3 separate regions of the Homo sapiens genome follow, and all the other regions are linked to region 2. The links are contacts of gene promoters, found by promoter capture Hi-C in human tissues and cell types (Jung and others, 2019). All regions are on one chromosome and are shown on one strand. The core of a region is centred on a gene start or on the middle of the fragment in contact, and the rest is flanking DNA. Distances in the headings are between cores, read along the strand shown.

Region 1 (4,293 bases), core at 888-3,387, 470 kb before region 2:
ACATGAGTTTGTTCTTTCTTTCTTTACACACACACACACACACACATACACACACACTTAAAAAAAACAGATTCTAATCAGCAGAGCAGAATATTCAAAAGAATATCCCCTGATCCTTTAGAAGAGAGAAATAAATGAGTTTGTAATGCACTAAATATGCCTGTGGTGTTGATGAAAATGCAGATTCTAGGACCTCATACTCAGACTTTATTGAGTCAGAATCTCTGGGGAACGGGACCTGGAATCTGCAGTCTTAACAGACACCTTGGGTTATACTTCTTCTTACTGAAATTAGAGACCTACAGTTCTTGATGCTTTCTAAAAAAGTGTTAAATACACGTAACATAAAATTGACCATCCTACTCATCTTTAAGTGCACAGATCGGTGGCATTATGCACATTCACACTGTGGTGCAACTAAGCTCCAGAACTTTTCATCTTGCAAAACCGAAACGCTGTGCTCATAAAACAACTTTGCATTTCCCCCTTTCCTGACCCCTGGCAACCACCATTCTGCTTTGTGTTTCTGTGAGTTTGACTACCCTAGGTAGTCAAACTGTGTGATCCTAGTGGATCATACAGTATTTGTCTTTTTGTGACTGGCTTGTTTAGTTTAGCATACTGTCCTCAAGGTTCATCATGTTGTAGCATATTTCAGAATTTCCTTCCTTTTTAAGGCTGAATAATACTCCATTGAATATGTGGACCATATTTTGTTCATTCATCCATAGATGGATGCTTGGGTTGCTTCTGTCTTTTGGCTATTGTGAATAATGTTGCTCTGAACATGGGTCTACAATTCTCTTTGAGACCCCGATTTAAATTCTTTTGTGTAGATACCCAGAAGTGGAATTGCTGGATCATATGGTAATTCTATTTATAATTTTCTGCGGAACCACCACACTGTTTTCCATAACATAGTGGCTGTGCCATTTTACATTCCCACCAGCAGTGTGCCAGAGTTTCCAATCTCTTCACATGCTTGCGAACAGTTATTTTGTTTGTATGTTTGTTTGTTTTTGGTAGTAGCCATCGTAATGAGTATAAGGTGAGATGTCATTTGGATTTGCATTTCCCTAGTGGCAAGTGATGTTGAGCATCTTTTTGGGTGCTGGTTGGCTATTCGTATATTGTCTTTGGAAAGACTTGTTATTCAAGTCCTTTGCCCATTTTTAAATTAAGGAATTTGTTTTTTTGTTGTTGATTTGTAGGAGTTTTTTATAGATCCACATATTAACTCCTCATCAGATACATGATTTGCAAATATTTCCTCCCATTCCATAGGTTGCCTTTTTACTCTGTTGATTGCCTTTTGCTGCAAATTCTTGATGCTTTCTACACATTATAACCCTGTAGAAACAATATTATTTGCTATTCCGGTTTTATAGGGATGGAAACTCAGGCCCAGTTTAGTTTAACTTGCCTAAGGTTGTACAGTAAGTGTCAGAGCTGGAATTCAAGCTCGGGTCCCTTGGACTCCAAAGGGGGCACCCATCCCATTCCTCTGCTCTGCCTGACTTTCCCCCCTTAGAGCTAATAGCATAAGGAGGCCCCATGGGGGTCTGAAGGAAGGGGCGTTGGTTGGAGAAATGTTCAGTTGCAGGTGGGGAAGTATGAACGGAAGGCCTGGGAATCTCTTCCATTAGACCACTGGGGTGCCCCTTCCTGTAGCTCAACATCATTGCTTAGATCTCAGAAACAGCAGAGAAGTGCAGACAGGTTTTTTAGTTCAGTTTGATTGTGTTTTGTTTATTTGTTTTCTTAAGCATTTTATAAGCTTGTTTCAGAGCCCATCTGCTCCTTGCAGTTCCCCGAGCAGTCCCTGTGTGTTCACACCACGGTGCCTTTGTTGAGGCTGTGTCATCTGCTTGCAAGACTTTCACCACTTCACACACCCCCGTCTTTCAGGGAGGCCAGTTCTTTGCTCACCTTTCCCTGCGTCACCAGGCAGAAGGAAGAGTCCCCTCCTTTGCAGTCCCTTTCTCTTGGGATATTTCCCACAGCCTGTGAGTTCCATGTCTTATTCATTGCTCTATCACCCAGCACTGTGGAGCTTCTCCTTGGCTGTGCACTCTCCAGTCTCAGTCCCAGCCTGAACCAATTAAATGAGAACCTGAGGATAGGGAATGGGAAAGCTGTGCTTCTACAAGCTCTCCGGGGCATTCTTCCTGCAGCCAGCCTGGGCACCCACTGGCCCCTGACAGGCCCACATCCAGCCTGGCTGCACTGAGTTAGATCTAAATCTGGAACTCCCTGGAAGTGCTGCAGTCCCTTCCCCCGTCCTCTGTAAGTGGCTCACCCCTGGGGTCATGGTGTGTGTCCTGTATGGAGGAATCAGTGACCCCAGACCCCGGGCTTTCACTGGAAGGGGTCTGACAGCTCTGCTGTTCCCCCGCCCCTTTATGTGCCCCTGCCCCTTTATGTGGCCCCACCCCTTTATGTGCCCTCTCCCCTTTATGTGCCCTCCTTAATCCAGTGAAACTTGGCAATTTTGAGAGGATAGGAATTTTGTTTGTTTATCCTTCCCCCATTCATTCATAATCCATTTATTGAGCACCCACCATAAGCTGGGCATTGTGGTGGACATAACACACCTTTGAGTAACTTACGGTCTGCTAGGGAAAGCATGTTCTAGCCTTCTGAGAGGAAAGGCTGTGTGTGTATGTGTATGTGTGCACGAGTGCATGTGTGCACATACGTGTGCTAAGACTACGTGCTTGCATGATGTCAGGATTCTGAGTGGTGGCACCTGTCTGACTGGGAAATTGGAGAAAGTTTGAGGGGAATGGAAGATGTGACCCTGGTGTTTTGTTTTGTTTTTTTTTGAGACAGACTCTCACTCTGTCACCCAGGCTAGAGTGCAGTGGTGCAATCTTGGCTCACTGCAACCTCCGCCACCCAGGTTCAAGTGATTCTTCTGCCTCAGCCTCCCGAGTAGGTGGGACTACAGGTGCGTGCCACCATGCCTGGCTAATTTTTGTATTTTTAGTAAAGACAGGATTTCACCATATGGGCCAGGCTGGTCTCGAACTCCTGACCTTGTGATCTGTCCGCCTCGGACTCCCAAGGTGCTGGGATTACAGGCGTGAGCCACTGCGCCTGGCCATGACCCTGGTTTTATTTATTTACTTATTTATTTTTTTGAGATGAGGTCTGGCTCTGTCACCCAGCCTGGAGTGCAGTGGCACCATCTCAGCTCACTGCAACCTCCACCTCCTGGGTTTAAGCGATTCTTGTGCCTCACCCTCTCGAGTAGCTGGGATTACAGGCACCACCACCACACCCAGCTAATTTTTGTATTTTTAGTAGAGATGCGGTTTTGCCATGTTGGCCAGGCTGGTCTCAAACTCCTGACCTCAAGTGATCTGCCCACCTTGGCCTCAGAGTGCTGGGATTACAGGCGTGAGCCACCATGCCCGTGTGTGACCCTGGTTTTAAATGGTGGGGTGGGTATCTGCAGGGGAGGAACCTGGTGCCCTTGGGTGAACTGTCAAGAGGAAGGAGGGGGAGACTGGAGGGCTGATTCTGAGGCTTTTCTCCATGGAAGATTACCTTTAGGTTCATTCCATCCATCCATCCATCCATCCATCCATCCATCCATCCATCCATTCGTTCATCAAATACCTGATGAATACCTGCTCTCTTGTACTTAAATTTTGGACTGTAGACCAGCTGTTTTAGTGTCAGCTGGGAGCTGTTACAAATGCATGTTCTTAGACCAGCTCAGGCCTACTGCATCAGTATCTCAGGGGGTGGGGTTCAGGAATGTCCGTTTTAACGACCTCTTCTGGTGATTTTTGCACATGCTAAAGTTGGATAACTCCCACTCCAGAATGTGGACTTTCCGTCTCATTACTGTAGCCTCAGTGCTTAGCCCAAGTGGCTCCGTAGTCATCTGTGGACTCACTGTTCACGCGCCAGGCCCTCTTAGAGACCGGGAATGTAGGAGGATGCTTCAGGGGGAAGATGGCAAGGTCAGCTGAATTTGAGGTATTCCTGAGCCATGTGGGCAAAGACGCGAGACAGATACCTCTGAGTCTCAGGAGAAAAGCCTGGGTTTGAGGTATTTTGGAAGTCATTAGCATATGGGTAGAATGATTAGATGACCAAATATATGAAAAAAAATTCTCAAGACCCATGTGAAAGTCAGAGAGGGGTGTGGTGGCCTGGCTGGCCTGAAGACAGGTGTTCTGATGATTCTGGCAGGGGCCCCCATTTGCCTGGCACTGAAATTATATTAGTATCTTTACTGTATGAGCACCGTGCCCATCAGGGCAAGCTGTGACTCCTGTC
Region 2 (3,853 bases), core at 261-2,760:
GTGAAACCCCGTCTCTACTAAAAATACAAAAATTAGCCAGGCATGGTGGCATGCACCTGTAGTCTCAGCTACTCGGGAGGCTGAGGCAGGAGAATCGTTTGAACCTGGGAGGCGGAGGTTGCAGTGAGCCAAGATTGTGCCACTGCATTCCAGCCTGGGCAACAGAGCAAGAATTCGTCTCCAAAAAAAAACAAAACAAAACAAAACAAAACCACAAGGCGGGGGAGCTGGAGCATACATGTTTGAAGTAGAATCTTTGACAAGCTGTTCTGCATCCACTCCCATTTCTGTGCTTCCATATTTGTTTTCTTTCATTTTGTTTTCTAGAAAAAAAAATTTTTTTGGTAGAATTCTCTAGGAAAGCTACACTCCTGTGTCCTAGGGCCCAACAACAAGCAAGACAGGCATAACAGCTGGGAAACCAATCAGCTTAAACTGAGACAGACAATATCAAACAGGCATGTCAGGCCCCACGAGAACATCCACCCTAAATCCAGAAGGCATTATGACCACATCGCTTCAGCTGCCTGGATTTCAGGTATAAATTAGTTCTTCTACAAAGAGGGCACTTGGTCTGTAAACGGGTCCAAAGGTAAGAGTCCCACCGCTAAAGACCTATCTCTCTTCTACACTAACATGGGGGGGCAGTGGGGAAGAAAGGGGCGAGAAGAGGTATGGAGGTTTTGGGAGGGAGTGGGAGAATTGGAGGCTAGAGAGATCGTTTCTGTCCCACCATCTGTGTGACCCCAGTGCCCAGCACAATGCAGCCCACGGAAAGGCACTGGTCCTTTCATTGACCATTTACTGAGCATCTACTACATGCCAAAAAGCGAGATGGGTGCTGTGAAGGCAGAAACGGATTTGGAGATAATCTCCGCCAGGCATACTGAGGTCAAGGTTTTCGTTCGTTTGTTTAGAGAAGAGACGGAGAAGGTCAAGGTGTTTTTGTTTGTTTTGTTGTTGTTGTTGTTGTTGTTTAAGAGTCTTGCTCTGTGCTCAGGCTGGAGTGCAGCGGCGTGATCTCGGCTCACTGCAACCTCTGCCTCACGGGTTCAGGCAATTCTCCTGTCTCAGCTTCCCAAGTAGCTGGGATTACAGGCGCGCGCAACCACGCTCAGCTAATTTTTGTATGTTTTGTAGAGACAGGGTTTCACCATGTTGGCCAGGATGGTCTCGAACTCCTAGCCTCAAGCGATCATCCCCTCTCGGCCTCCCAAAGTGCAGGGATTACAGACGTGGGCTACCGCGCCTGGCCTATGCCAAGGTTTCAAGAAGGTTTAGAACTCAGTATCTGCTCCCCTATTTTCAACAGCGTAGTCAGTCCCTAAAATTGACCCGCTCCAGAGTGTACTGCGCAGGCGCCCGCTACCTCCGCGCTCTCTCCCGACGCCCAGCTCAGACGGTAAGTCCCGCATGCGCACTCCGCTTTCTCTCTGACGCACCCCCGGAAGCACTGTCAGTTTCGGGGGGCGGGACCGGGAAGCGTTTCCGGGGGCTGAAGGCACAGGCTGAATCTGTTGCGGCAGCTGAGGCTACAACAGGCCTGCGCCGGCGGCAGAGAGGATATCTTGGGCGGGGGATGTGAGCGCTGAGCCCTTGGCAGGTACTGCGTGGCCAGGACCACGGGCGGCAAGGGTAGGGGAGGAGAAGTCGGTGGGGGAGTTAAGGGCTCCTCAGCAGGCCCCGACGCTCGCGCCGCTGGCCCCGCCAGGCCCATTCCGTGGACCGGCATACCAAAGCCCCGCGCGGGAGGTTGGGGTCCCGGCGCTCCAGCTCCGAATCCCGCAGTCTTCTGCCCACACGGCGCGCAGACCGCGATACCGAGGCCTTTGGGGCAGCTTCTCGCCCAAGGTCACCCTCGCGGCGGCGGAGCTCCGCCGGCCACAGCGCTTAGAGATCCCGCCCCCGTCCGTCCGCTGGCCTTTCGGGGCGTAGGGTGGGCGCGGCTTGACGACCTCGGGTTCGAGCCACCAATGCCTGAGGCCTGACGAGCCGAGCTGGGAGAAAGACTGCGCCTGGACTTAGCTGATCTTCTGTTTAAGTAAAACATTCAGCATCCCCTGTTGCTGTCTCTGTCACCTGTTGTAACCTGCCCTTTTTGTCTTTCAGCTAGGTCGCTGTCAACCTGATATTTCTCTCCACTTTGTCTTTGTCGGGGTATCTGGATCCTGTTTTATATCTGTCTCCACCTTGCTTCTGTGTCTGTTCACCCTGTCTCTGCCACTCAGCCCTTACTCTAATTCAGGGCCTGTCAGTCTGGCTTTTTGGCCATCTGTCTGTTTCTCTCTTTCTGCCAACTTTGTTTTTGCCTCTTGTCTCTCTTTCCTGAGTTTGGGTGGGGCAGGGCTGCCCAGACCTCTGAGCCATGGAAGGTGACTCATGACCCCGTGAAGTTCCCTGCACTGGTGACACTCTCAGTGACTCGACCGCAGTTTGGCCTCAACTCTGACAGGTGTCGCCCAACATAAGTGTCAGAGTGCAGGAGAGCCTGTCAGGGAGACAGGAGGCCCATTTTAGGGCCAGAGCAGCTTGATGAGTCCTCTCCTTTTCTCGCCTGTGGTTTCTCAGGCCTGCACAGCTTCCCAAATGCCTTCGCTCTATCCACTCACCACAGGATGGTCTCCAGGGATCTCTGGAGCCTGCTCTTTGAGTTACAGCTGTTTAACAGGCCTGTCTACAGGCTAAGAAAGGATCAGACTGAGGTCTTTGGGGCTACTGGAACAGTAGCAGGGTTTCTGGGATAACTGCATGCTTAGTTCAGAGATTGTGTCAGCATTTTCAGTTAAATTATAAGAAACCTAATAATTGGGAATTTATTATTTGCTTTATAAAAGCACCACGGGAGAAATAAACCACACACAAAAGGACAAATGTTGTTTGAGAGCACTTAAATGAAGTACCTAGAATAAACCAATTAAGAGACGGAAAGTAGAATAGTTTACCAGGGGCTGGGGAGAGGAGTTATTGCTTAATGTTACAGAACAGAGTTTTGGGGGATGATGAATAAGGTCTGGAAATGGGTTGTGATGATTGCACAACATTGTGAATGTACTTCACTGAATTGGACTCTTAAAATTACTTAAAATTGTTAAGTCTTAAAGTTTTATGTATATTTTATACAATACAAAAAACAAAAACAGTATTCATTGGAGACTCCTGAAACCAATAAGCTCCTTTTACATGTAATTTTTCAAAATTCATTCTGTAGTTGTTAGGAACACAGTTGAACCTGTGTTTATTGATTCCTACTCTCTTTACAGCAGTGGGTACAGCTGAGGTTCTTAGAAAAGTTTAGTTAAATGAATTTGGTTAAAATCTTTCTCAGGCTTTCTACTTACTTTCTGCCCTGGCTCTCCTCCCTCTGCCTTTCTTGGAATCAGTGCAAGAATGTGCTCATAAGTAGGATACTTGATAATTATGCTTTTCACAGGAAGAAAACTCATAAGGTTGAAAAATAGCCCTTTTATTATAATGCAAAATTATGTGTTATTTCTTGAGTTTCGTTATGGGGGATGCCTTTGTGGTTTTTTTGTTTTTTAAAATCTCTTATTTAAGCTGTCTATTTGCCTTTAAGGTAGTTTATCAAGCTTTCTAATAAGATATCACAACTGAATTACTACTTTATTTAATTGAATCCTAGATGCTGTTATTTCATGTACCACCAAGGAAGGGAGAAACCCTGCTAATTGAACTATGGCTTAATACGCTCTTATCGTTTAGACTTTTTATTATTGAAAACACTTTTAGACTTAGACACTAAAACATGGTATCAATGCCTATTCTAATGCATATATACAAAGGAAAAATAAGAACACATTGGTTAAAGTGTTCGTTAAACTTAACATTCCAAGTT
Region 3 (4,173 bases), core at 1,538-4,037, 280 kb before region 2:
TTTCCTTTGACAGAATGCCTCTGTTTCCATTCCTAGCTGGTGAGATCTGCTTGGAACACGGTAGCATTTCCAGAAACGGGTCTTGGGTTTGAGACTTGTATGATCCCCAAAGCATCTCCCTGGCTCTGTTAGATTTCCTCTGATTGACAACATTCTCTCCTAGTGACAATATTCTGGCTTTCCTGGTAAACAGTAGTGAGCAAGCAGGTCACATGGGGACGGGGTGGGTGTCACCATCATTCAGAAACAGGAAACCTTACAAGGCAGCCAGTCACGGCCACCAGAACCCCACTTTTTTTTTCTCACTGTGGCAAAATACAGATCATGCAACATTCACCCACTTAACCATATCTAAAAGTACAGTTTGGTAGCATTAAGTACCTTCACGTTGTTGTACAATCATCACCCCATTCATTTCTAGAACTCATTTCATCTTGCAAAACCGAAACTCTGTCCCCACTACGTAAGAACGCCCCACTCCTCCGTCCCCCAGCCCTTGGCAATCTCCATTCCATTTTCTGCCTCTATAAACTTGACTTCTCTAGATGCCTCATATAACTGGATTCATTCTGCATTGTCTTTTTGTAACTGGCTTATTTCACTTAGTATAACATCCTCCAGGTTCACCGTGTTGTAGCATGTGTTGTAATTTTGCCCCTTTTTAAGGCTGAATAATATTCTGTTCCCAAAGCCCTATTTCTAACATTACACAGAGCACAGACCCACATTCTGACATGAGAACACCCCAGATCTGCTCTTGGGACATCCATACATGCACCAAAATGCACCCTCGCCCCTCCAGTCTCTGTGCACATATGAGGACCACCCTCCTGGACCTGTGAGATGCTCGGTCACACCCACAGATAAATGCAGTCACCCCACAGCCTCCATCTGCAGCTCTCACCTGGGCACGCCCCAACGCACACCCCCCATCAGAAGGAGTCGTGGGAGATTTTGCAGATTCTTGGGGACATCATAGCTGGAAGATCCAGGGACCCATCTCAGCCCTGGGTCGAGATGGGGAGATTTTGGCACTTGAACCCCTCCACTGTCCCTGTCTCCAGGTCCCCTCCACAGGGTAAAGAAAAGGGTTGCTCAGCACCTGGGAAGGCCCCACATCTCCCCACCCAAGCTTAGCTTCCGTGACCCCAAGGGGAGCTGAGGACTTGGTCGCGGGGAAGCCCAATCAGCCCAGGTCTCACAGAGATTCAGCCCAGATCCAATCTGCCTGCCAAGCTCCACCCCCCTCTCCTCTGGACGGGGCAGAACTGGGAAAACAGGAGCCTCTATGCCCAGGAGCATGAAGGGGGACCCAGGGGTGGCCTCTGGCCTGGGACGTGTTCCCTGTGCACATCCCAAGCACCTACCCTACTAGCGTGGTGCTCTGCTCCCCTGGAGATCTCAAACTTTGGAATGGGAGTGTCATTCCATCTTTCTCCAGCTGCCCCGCAGGGGGACCAAGCTCAAAGGAAGCTTTGCGAACAGTAATACAACACAGTACCTCCTCATCTAACGAAGGTCTCAACGCTTACGCCTTGACTAATTCCCAAAATCCCTCCGTCTCAAATCACTGTTAATTTTCTTCAGATGATAATGGTGTTGTGGTTAGAGAATATCCTCATTCTTAGAAAAGCACACGAAAGTATTTAGGGATGATGCCTGGAACTTACTTTCAAACTTACGGCAAAAAATACATAGCTCTAGAGATGTATCTACACAGACAGATAAAGCAAGCGTGTGACATGGTTACGCGTCAGCTCTAGGATGGGCTCTGAGAGTGTTCCTTGTTCTTCCTTCAACTCTTCTGTATGTTTGGATATTTTCATCATACAAATTTGGGAGGAAAAACCCCTCGCCCTCATCATGGCCGTCCTTTGATTACCTGCTCTCCCTCTGCACGCTGTCATCATGAAGTGACCAGGAAGTCCAAGAGGATTTGTCAATGGTAGGACGTGGAAAGAACGTTCTGCCGGGTACACGGGCAGGAATATGCAACTTCCTGCCTCCCAGCAGAGGCGTCGTGTGGCTCAGCCGCGAGCTGCTGAAGGAGCTCTTTCGGACGGGAGCATGAAGCTGCTCCAGGGTGGCTTCCCCACCACACGCCATCCCTAGAGAGAAACAGGAGGGCTGTCCCCAGACACTGAACAAGAAGGTCTCTCCCCAGCCCTCTCTCTTCATGGCCTAGCTGTGCTCTGTGGTGTCCCAAACAGCTGTGAAGTGTGTGGCACAGAATCCATTGCTCATAAGAACCAGAAACCGGCTGGGTGAGGTGGGTTATGCCAGTAATCCCAGCACTTTAGGAGGCCGAGGTGGGTGAATCACTGGAGCTCAGGAGTTCGAGACCAGCCTGACCAATATGGTGAAACCCCATCTCTACTAAAAACGCAAAAATTAGCCAGGTGTGGTGGCATGTGCCTGTAGTCCCAGCTACTCAGGAGGCTGAGGCAGGAGAATCGCTTGAACACGGGAGGCAGAGGTTGCAGTGAGCCAAAACCACGACACTATACTCCAGCCTGGGTGAGAGAGTGAGACGCTCTCTCAAAAGAAAAAAAAAAAAAAAAACAAGAACCAGAAACCCTTCCATGAATGCAGGACCACACCTCTTTCACTCTTGCTGTCTCCCCAGCACCAACCCAGGGCCTGACACGCAGCGGGCACTCGGAGTAAATTAAAGCTTACAGCCAATGTTCTCTCTTTTACAAGTTAGAACAAATTTCAGGTCATTCCTCATAGCCTGCCAACTTTAGAGATAAGAGGTGAATGGCCTGCAGTGAATGGGACCCTGGCCACCCCTGCCGCCTGACCCGGGTGGCTGCAGCTGGGGATGAGCGAGCTGTAGCCGGGAGGAGGCTGAGGAGCCTGGCAGAAAAGCCTCAGGAGCTGGAGGCTGGGATCACGGCAGGAGGAAGGCAACTGGGGTCAGAAGATGGAGAGCAGGCCAGAGCCGGGGCATTCTGGAGCTGCCTTTGACCCTAGGACAACTTCCAAATGAGGACCCTGGGACTGGGACCAGGCAGCCTCTCCCTGGCCGTTCAATGTCTGCCGGCCAGGAAGGAAGGCCTCCTCGGACAAGGAGGAAGCACCGGAGAGGGTGTTTGTTTTAATCATCGGAGATCAAAGACAAGTCCCACCGGGCTGGTGGTCCTCCTGGGGTAGCCAGGCCCTTTCCTCTCCTCCTGCCCCAGAGTGGCTAACTCCACACCCCCCATTCCTTCCAGAGCTGCTGCCCAGGACAGCCGGGGCTCAGGGAGACCTCTGGACACTGCATCCTTCCAGGGCATAGAGAGTGAGGTAGGGATAGGTGTCCAGAGACCTTAGAGCTGAGGCCTTGCTGACTTTATGGCTGTGACCTCACAGAGAGCCCAGTCATGGGTAAGAGAAACGAGAGAGGGATGGTGCAGCTAGAAAACTGCCATGTCCAGGGGGCCAGCTAAGGCTCCCCCACCTTCAGGAAGGCCAGTGGTTGAGAGCAGGGCCCAGGGATGACAGATTCGGTCCGATTTTGCCTCTGATCAGTGAGCCACCTAGTTCTCGGAGCCTCTGTTTGCTCTTCTGGAAAAGGGGCACAGGGCTGCTACTGCCATGAATAGCATTTGTCAAATACTTGGCTCAGAGCCTGACGCGGAGTGAGTGCTCCGTGAGCAGCCAGTGTTCTTGTCATCAGTGTTGTTAGCCTGTGTGCCCTCATGATGCGAGGGACCTCCTGGCTGCTGCGATTTGCTGAGATGCATTCAAGGTTTTGCTTCTACTGGGGGACCAGCAGAACAATCGTGACGGGCAAGTGGGTCTGGATATCAAGCCCTGCAAAGTGACCTGGGCCAGTGACACCCCCACAGGGCCTGCCATCTCCCTGCCCCACACGCCTGGGTGCCCCAGGAGGTGGGCTGGTCTCTATTGCCCGAGGACAGAGGCCAGCGACTTTGTCCCTGCTCTGTTTGCCATGAAAGAGCAAAACCACCACAGGGTTCAAAGGAAAAGAGGAAAACCCAGTAACTCGTCCCAGACGGTCTGTCCCCTTTATCAAAGCTGATTTCAGGGAGCAAAGTTCCCACCAGGAGAGGCCACAGCCTCATTAGAGAGTTCTGGGAATGATGAAAAGCCAGGCCGCCGTGCACATCCCTGGGACAATTAGGCCTTGTCCCTCTGCCTTCAAAGGCAATCTCACTGTCTCTG

Evidence for each region. Contacts are between HindIII fragments. The study calls those that stand out against the background at their distance.
Region 1: a contact is called between a fragment that was not itself captured here and the fragment with the promoter of ZBTB43 in region 2, in 1 of the 25 tissues and cell types used here (H1 embryonic stem cells).
Region 3: a contact is called between a fragment that was not itself captured here and the fragment with the promoter of ZBTB43 in region 2, in 3 of the 25 tissues and cell types used here (IMR-90 fibroblasts, dorsolateral prefrontal cortex and liver).

The regions. Positions count from the first base shown.
Region 1 is chr9:126,330,280-126,334,572 of GRCh38, forward strand. The region is part of intron 1 of MVB12B (multivesicular body subunit 12B); the gene reads left to right. Among named protein-coding and RNA genes, the nearest start is that of MVB12B, 5.6 kb to the left of the region's middle. The HindIII fragment of the contact is 4,706 bases long and covers 1-4,293 here.
Region 2 is chr9:126,803,530-126,807,382 of GRCh38, forward strand. It overlaps ZBTB43 (zinc finger and BTB domain containing 43), which reads left to right and starts at 1,511. Exons shown (of 3, transcript NM_014007.4): 1 at 1,511-1,603. RefSeq lists a silencer at 1,126-1,175 and enhancers at 1,237-1,738, 1,806-1,865, 2,276-2,385, 2,536-2,685. The HindIII fragment of the contact is 16,594 bases long and covers 1-3,853 here.
Region 3 is chr9:126,523,601-126,527,773 of GRCh38, forward strand. No RefSeq gene overlaps it. Among named protein-coding and RNA genes, the nearest start is that of LMX1B-DT, 88 kb to the right of the region's middle. The HindIII fragment of the contact is 6,412 bases long and covers 1-4,173 here.